Regions from separate parts of the Homo sapiens genome. Here region 1 is linked to region 2. The links are contacts of gene promoters, found by promoter capture Hi-C in human tissues and cell types (Jung and others, 2019). All regions are on one chromosome and are shown on one strand. The core of a region is centred on a gene start or on the middle of the fragment in contact, and the rest is flanking DNA. Distances in the headings are between cores, read along the strand shown.

Evidence for each region. The method cuts DNA at HindIII sites, captures the fragments that hold promoters and counts their contacts. A contact is called where the count stands out against the background at its distance.
Region 1: a fragment that was not itself captured here is called in contact with the fragment with the promoter of FOXN4 in region 2 in 1 of the 25 tissues and cell types used here (lymphoblastoid cells).

The regions. Positions count from the first base shown.
Region 1 is chr12:107,669,134-107,673,078 of GRCh38, forward strand. No RefSeq gene overlaps it. Among named protein-coding and RNA genes, the nearest start is that of PWP1, 15 kb to the right of the region's middle. The HindIII fragment of the contact is 4,062 bases long and covers 279-3,945 here.
Region 2 is chr12:109,307,089-109,311,101 of GRCh38, forward strand. FOXN4 (forkhead box N4) reads right to left here and starts at 2,196. Exons shown (of 10, transcript NM_213596.3): 1 at 2,031-2,196; 2 at 1,148-1,236. The coding sequence starts at 1,233. It also overlaps a transcript of MYO1H not described here. The HindIII fragment of the contact is 10,264 bases long and covers 1-4,013 here.

The DNA.
Region 1 (3,945 bases), core at 1,060-3,559, 1.6 Mb before region 2:
CTCATAATAAATCCTATATGGTAAGAATTTTGATTCCCATTTTTACAGATAGGGAAACTGAGGTGGAGGCAACAAGGCTAAAAAGTGGCAGAGAGGGAATGTGGACCTAGGCTGACCTGACCTCTAAGCCCAACTCTTTGTGGTGCCTCTTCAGTTACAATGCCTCCTCTAAAGAGAGAGGGGAGAGAATAAGATGCTTCTCTCCTCTCCACTGCTTTGAAAAATATGATCAAGCCAGGCACAGTGCTCATATCTGTAATCTCAGCACTTTGGGAAGCCGAGGCAGGCGGATTGCTTGAGCCCAGGAGTTTGAGACCAACCTGGGCAACAAAGTGACACCCCGTCTCTACCAAAAAAAAAAAAAATTGGCCGGGCATCATCGTGGGTGCCTATAGACCCAGCTACTCAGGAGGCTTGAGCCCAGGAGGTGGAGGTTGCAGTGAGCCAAGATCATGCCAGGGTGAGTGACAGAATGAGACCCTGTCTCAAAAAATAATAATAATAATAAATATGATCAGCTGGGTGTGGGGGCATATGCCTGTAGTCTGAGATATTGGGAGGCTGAAGCAAGAGATTCACTTCAGCCCAGGAGTTCGAGGCCAGCCTGGGCAACATAGTGAGACCCTGTCTCTAAGACAAAAAAAAAAAAAGAGAGAAGGAGGAAGAAAGAGCTTTCTGGGCTAAGACAAATGTTAGTCATGTGTATCTGTGATGTGGTGTGATGACAGGTCTACTTGTTCTGGATGTCTTTTTTTTGGTGAGTATTGTTTGGGGGAGAAAGAAGTATTGGGTGGCGTGAGGATTCAATGTAGATGGACCAATGTTTAATGGGACTGAGGACACAGAGAGGACACAGAGCGGACACAGAGATGTGGGAGACAGGGTCCCTCAAGGTGCTCCTTGACACACAGACACAGCTTGGGGGACTTAGTTGCTGCCAAGCCAACTCTTGGCGTGACATGAGGTGGCAGGAGTGGGGACGGACGGCCACTGAGGACCCACCACCCCAGGACAGCCGGGCGCCTCTGGCAGGCAGGTCCACGGTTACTGATTGTCATGGTCAAGCTCAGCTGGGCACTGGGTCCAGAAGGAGATGTGACTGGCCCATTTTGTGTCTTTTATCTGAGCCTGCACCTTTCCTAACTCAGATTTTTTAAATACTTTTTTCTTTATACTCACTTTGTTTTTCTCTGTACTAATACACTAACTCGGATTTTTGGCTTTTATTGGGCCGAGGTCCCACCAACCTGGATGCTCAGCCTTGTTTGGTAAAGCAAGAAAAGTATCTGAGAAATGTTCCCTAAAGGCTGATTTCACCCCAAACAGTCACTCAGTGATGCGCCTCACTTACCAAGGACACACCCCCAAAAGGCATCTCCTGGCCTCCGGGTCTCACTCTGTTATCGCAGGGTGTGGTGGAGCAGGTGTGGTTGGGTGGCCACCAAGATGGATTTCAGTCTCTTTCCAGGCCCAGGGAACAAGCCGAATTCGAGAGACTTGGCTTTTAGCCTCCTGTTAGAGCCAAGAAAGACTTCAAAGACTCAACGGCTTCTAAGGCTTTTTACATCAGCAAAGTCCTGCAAAGCCTGCAAACGAAGGCTGCTTTGAGGCCTTTCATTCTAAGGACAGAGAAGGTAAATTCCATGGCCACTTTCTCCAGAGCAGCAACTGGGCTCCTTCTTTTTACTTCCATGGGGAGGACAAGAGATTCATTTGCTTTCTGTTGCTGAGAATGCTATCAAAACAAATTTTACTTTTAGCTGCAACCTTTCAAAAGCGTCTTAAGCATAAAGCACGAAAAAATCCCCAAGCTTATGTAGGCATTCTAGTTTTTTCGTGGTTGGTGTTTTTTTTTAACTGTGCCAGTTTCAGCTGAAACATGGTTCTATTGTTTCCATTTCCCACTGTACATACAGCACTGAATTCTTGGGGAGCAAAAGTACGAGGGCAGATTGAGAAACCCCAGTTCATGAGAAGTTTGTTGTTGTGGTGGTTGTTGTTTTAGCAAAGAGAGGAAATCGGTAAATAGCTCTGATGTTGAGACAGCAGGAGGTCAGGACATTGAGCAACGTGCAGGTGGGGTTGTGGACTCAGGGCTGAGCGGCAGGGGGCGCTCCTCCCAGTGCAAGCCTTCAGAAACACCAGCCTTGAGTTGGACGGTTCTGGCTCATTGTGTGGAGTCCTAAGTGGTCACACTCCACACTCCTAAGTGGTCTGGTCACACAGTTGTTTTAAAGAAGGGTAATGGCTCATTAGGTAGATTTGGGTAGGATGCAGCTTGAAGTGGGGCGTAAAATCCTTTCATTGTCCAATGGGGAGGTCACAGTGCAGCAGCTACTCCTTGTACTTGGAATGAGGGAAACAGCGTAATCTAGACTTGAACACGGGCTCAGGAACCAGGAGCGCCAGCCACAGATCTCACTCACTCTCACTGTTGTTTGCAACTTTGGGCAAGTCAAGTAACTTCTCTGCTGGATCACTGCTTCTCCAACTGTGTGAGCATTTGTAGCTTTTTCCCAAATAAGTACTCTACTTCCTGGCTTTCCAAAGTGGAGCCGGACAGTCGCTTCTGCATCATTGGGAGTTTGTTGGCAATGCAGAATGTCAGCCTCGATTCCAGACCTACTACATGGAATCTGCATTTTAACCAGAGGCCCAGTGCTGAGCACACTGAGGTCTGAGAAGGACTGCTCTGTTCTCCCAGGTCACTGCAATGGTATCAGGTTCTTCTGTTCCTCTCTCTCAGAGGATACTTGAAATGATGCCTGAAAAAAAAGACAATCTAGGCCAGGCATGGTGCCTCATGCTTGTAATCCTAGCCCTTTGGGAGGCCAAGGCGGGAGCATCACTTCAACCCAGGAGTTTGGGACAAGCCTGGATAACATAGTAAGACCCCATCTCTACAAAAGAATAAAAAATTAGCTGGGTGTGGTGGTGCACACCTGTAGTCCCAGCTACTTGGGAAGCTGAAGTGGGAGAAGTGGGGAGGATTGCTTGAGCCTGAGAGGTCGAGGCTGCAGTGAGCCATGATCGTACCACTGCACTCCAGCCTGGATGACACAGCGAGACTCTCAAAAAAAAAAAAAAAAAAAAGATCATCTATATATATGGTCAGGACTCAGGTAAGATCCTTAAGATGTCTTTGTATTCATCTGTAATAAGTCATTTTAAGAACTCCATGTTCTCTGAGGCATTTTCTGAAAGTCATTTGTGCACCCATCTATTGCCAATGATTTCTCCTCTCACTAGAGGTGTGAGATGTTTTTCAAACCCGCTATGAATTTCTGTTAAATTACCTTACCCATTAGATGTTTTTTCACCCTGCTGTCTCTCACCAGGGGAACGCTGTGAAAAAGCTTTAGAACACTGTGCAAGCAATCATCCTTTCCAGCCACCTGTTTCTGCTGACAACTTTATGAATAGCTTCTTTACCAATCATTAGACAAAAACCATTCCATTCTGGAGAATGATGACACAGAAGGTTAAGGGCTTTTTCTAAAAGCACATACACATGTGTGAGGTTTGCCAAAACCAGCTTGTGCCCAAAGTAGGACAGATGGGCCACTAAGGGGAAAGAGCAGAGAAAGGGATTCAAGAGAAGGAAGTTTTTGTAAGGCTTGTGCTATAGACTGAGTGACTGTATTCCCCCAAAATTCATAATCATCAATGTGATGGTATTAAGAGACAGGGTGTTTGGGAGATGCGTAGTCATGACAGGGTAGCCCACATGAATGAGATTAGTGCCCCTATAAAAGAGACACCAGAGAGCTCCCTCACCCCTTCTGCCATGTAAGGACACAGTGAGAAGACAGCAGTCTATGAACCAGGAAGCAGGCTCTCACCAGATACTTCATCTGCTGGTGCCTTGATGTTGGACTTCCCAGCTCCAGAACCATGACAAATAAATTGTTGTTTAAGCCACCCAGTCTATGGCATTTTTGTGAG
Region 2 (4,013 bases), core at 946-3,445:
TCTGCAAATATCTGTTTGAATCTGTGTCCTCGTTTGGATCTCAGAAGGCAGCTTCCAGGCCCACAGCCCTCAGGAAGCAGCCTCCCTCTAATTGCGGGCTGCGGTCTGTCCCAGCAGGCACTCCTGGTGAGTTGCAGTGACCCCGGGGGGGCCAGACAAACCCTGGGTAAACAGGGCTGATAGGAGGTGACAGCCTGCTCTTCCCAGGCCAGCCCTGGTCCTGTCCCCATTCCGTAATCTGGACTGTGCCCCCTCAGCCTACAGACATGTTGCTTGCTCTGTCGGGGGAGCCCTGGAAACGAGGTCAGGGCTCCCTGGCCTCAAGGGGAAAGAGGCCGGGAGGGGACTCCAGGTCCTTCCTTTTCCTCCTTTTCCCTCCTGGAGACCTTGGACAAGCCCTTTCCCCTTTCTTGGCCTCAGTTTCCCCAACTGTAAAAAAAATAGGGGGTGCGCAGACTGGTTGACCTCCTAAAGGCCTTTTTGGCTATGATGTTTGAAGACAAAAAAAGACAGAAGGGCTCTGAAGGCTTCCATGCATCCTCTCAGTTGTACCTTGCTTCACCCTGTTTCAAGGCCTCAGTTTCCATCTAATTTACTCTTCAAACACATGAGGCCTAGAAGAAACCTTAAGATCATCTACTTCAACAAGATCAATTAAATGATGAGGAAGTGAGGCCCAGGGCAAAGGACTTGCTGAATGTCACACAGCCTGGCTGAGAACTTAGCATATCTGACTACTTTCTTAACATCTGTGGAGGATAGAACCCAATTCCTCCCAGAAGGTTTTTTTTTGGCAGGGGGTGGGGGAGCATTTCCCACAGCCCCCATTAAGGCCACTGGAGGGGAAGCAGTAGCTGCTATTGTCATCTTAACATTCACCAGGATGCCCAAACAGTATCAAATGCAGAAACGGACCTCTTTTGGAGGGGACAAGAGACAGCAGGCATTTCGTGGTCCCACTGGGCCAGGTTGTGGCCCAGACACCCTTAGCAAGACCAACATTGAAATCAAGACTTTCCAGCTCTCCCGCAAAAATCACAGAATTGAACATAACAATAGTTCTTGGGCAGTTTCAGAAACCATAAACAGCATACAAACACTTTGAGCAATTAAAAAATATATAGTTTGTTATTGTTGGAGCCCTCACCTGTATTCCTGTGGAGAGGGGTGGTGATTTTGCCCTGAGTTTCGAATAATTCCTGACATTATGGATGAGGTGTCACTTTCTATCATCTCCTTGGGAAAAGACAAGCAGAAAACAAAGCTCCCATCAGCGACGATATGGACAGGGCAGAAACCCACAGTTTTCCCGCAATTCAGAAAGATGGAGCACAATCAACTCACAGAACACTTTTTTTTTCTTTAAAGAAAAAAGTTCTAGAGGATTCCTGGGCATCTCAGGTCACTTTCCCAGGGCAATTCTACAGCGTTTTAGAAACAAATGAAGAGAATGAAATGAAATTCCCGGTTCTTTCGAATTAATGGGGGAAGAGCAAGGGAAGCTCTAGAATCCAAATGTCAAACCTGGAAAATGTGGACTCACAAAATAGGAATCAGAAAAACGATTTCCTTCCAAGCCTTATATTTTCAACCTCAGTTTGGTTATGATCACTTTCAAAATAAGGGGCAGCTGGATGTGACATGTGTATTTCTCTGGGGGAACAAATTCCCACTTGCAAAGGGAATAATCCCCGCAAGCTCCTGCCCTGAAATGCCTTCAGAAATGCCACAAGCCCTTACTGGAAAACCAATCCAACCACCCACGTCCCCGCAACACACAAACACTGCCTTAAAAAAATAATAAAAATATTTGAGTTCCCTAAGTTTCTCAAACTCCAAGCCTGAACCAACATAAAAGCCCACCAAAGCCTCAGTTCCGCCCCCAAAGCCATCGAAGGATTCCCAGGAAGGAGGAAAAGGGAGCAGAGGGAGGCGGCCCCGCAGCCCCTGCGCCCGGGTCTCTACCCTGGAAATGCAATGCCCGGCATTGCCCGGGAGGAGGGAGCAAAGCCGACCCTGCAAGGCGGTACCTGGAGCCGATCCTCGCGGGGCCGCCGCTGCCGGCGCTCCGGGGGTGGGCAGGGGTTCCGGAGGGGGGCTCCCTCGCGCTCGCCCCTCGCGTTCCGCAATTTGGCCGCCGTCGCAGCTCGAACCGTTTTTAAATTTCCCTCTCTGGAGCTGTCCAGCTCAGAGCATGCGCAGTAGCCGTGCGGGGGGCTTTTCCCCAAGGGTCAGTTACAGGGCAGGGTCAAGGGGATTGCAGCGGGCGTTTCCCAGCAGCCGCGAGCCTTGCACGCCCCGGGGTTCTGGGGGGGGGGTGTGTGTGAGGGGGGCGGGGCGGAGGAGTGCAGGGGTAGGGACCCCTCTTCAAACTTTGCCAACAGTGACAACAACTGCATGCCCGAGAGCATGCGTTGAGGAGCAGTGGGAGGGTGATTTCGGCCAAGGGAATTAAGTTGCAAAAGGAGGCTGGGTGCATTAAAACTTGCAATCCCGCCTGGGGCAAAGGACGTGGGCGGGCGGAGAGATCTGTTGCAACCCCCTCTCTCCCCCAAAGTGGAGGACGGGCCGGGAGGCAGAGACGGGGCCCCAGGTGGACGCGGATTCGGTCCACCTGTCCCTTTAAGAAAGTTGCGCCCGCGCGGGCTGGCGCGCAGCGGGAGGGGGCTGCGGAGCGGGGCGCGGGGCGCCTCCACCTGCTGGGGCCGCGAGGGGGGGCCCGGGCCCAGCGCGGCGGCGAGGCGAGGAGGGCTCCCCGGGACTGCGCGCTGCGCCCCCCTGTCCCGCGAGGAGGGTGAGCCCGCCCGGAGCGAGTGCGGCGGGGCTCGGCGGCCCCGGCAGCCGCGACGACGGCGACGGCGGTGGCGGTGGCGGTGGCGGCGGCGGCGGAGGCGGAGGCTGCGGCGTTCGGGGTACGGCGCCGCGAGCCCAGCGCAGCCGTTGGGGGCAGTGGCCCGCGTGTGCAACCGCGCTCCCTCCCTTCCCCGCCGCCCGGCCCGCGCCGCCGCTGCCCCGCCCCGCCTGGAGCCAGCCGCGGGAAAGGTGGCGCGGACCGCGGACGGCGGCGGGGCCCAGAGCGGGCAGAGGTCTCCACAGGCCCCTTAGGAGGCTTGGATGAGTTTGGTCCCCTGGAAAGTTTGCGTTTCTGGCGCCCTAACTCTCAAGCCTCCGTTGCAGTAATTGCCACGGCAGCAACGATATTAGGCACGGCTACCCCCATTCTTTCGTTACTTATTGACGCCTGCTTCTGGGTTCTTCTTCGCATCAGCCCTTGATGACATAGCATGGTCCTCCTTTTGCATGGGGGGAACCCAAAGCCCCGAGCGGCAGTGAGTGGGTCGGCGGCGCACGGGCAGAGCGCGGGCTCCCGCACCTCCCCAGCTCGCGTACTGCACGTGGACCTCTGCGCCGCCCCCACCGAGTGAGGCTCAGGCACCCGAAGCGTCTGGAGTTGTTTTGAGGCTGTCCTCGCGTTATCTACTTCGCAGCAGGCAGGGGACCAGTGTCCCCGCACCTGTGACTGTTTTTTTTTTTTTAAACCCAGTGTTTAAGTTCAGGAAGAACTCAGGGCTCCCCTGGACTGGGTGTGCCTGGATTTCAAGTTCTATTCAGGTGGGCTGTGACCTTGGCACTGGTCCATGTCCTCACAAATGGTTTTCTGGTAGCACCTGGACGTCCTTCCTCCTTTCTTCTCTGCCAGGAGTAAATAGATCAGCTTTCATTCTCTAGGGAGGAAAAAGATGTAGTTTACAGATGTTAGTTGAGGTCACAGTCATGAAACTTTCTCAGTTTTCATCTCCCGCGACCAGCATGTATTTAAAATGTGTGTTTTGACCGGTTAGGAAAGTGGTTTACATAGTTTATGTTGCTTTGAATGTCCCTGAATGACATATAATTAATTCACCAGTAAAGTTGTAAGCATTCAAAGCATTTGGGTTTATTTCTGTTAATCCTTCTTGGAGTTGTAAGGAAACGTGGGTGACTTGACAACCTCCTTGTGAGGTCACAGTCAT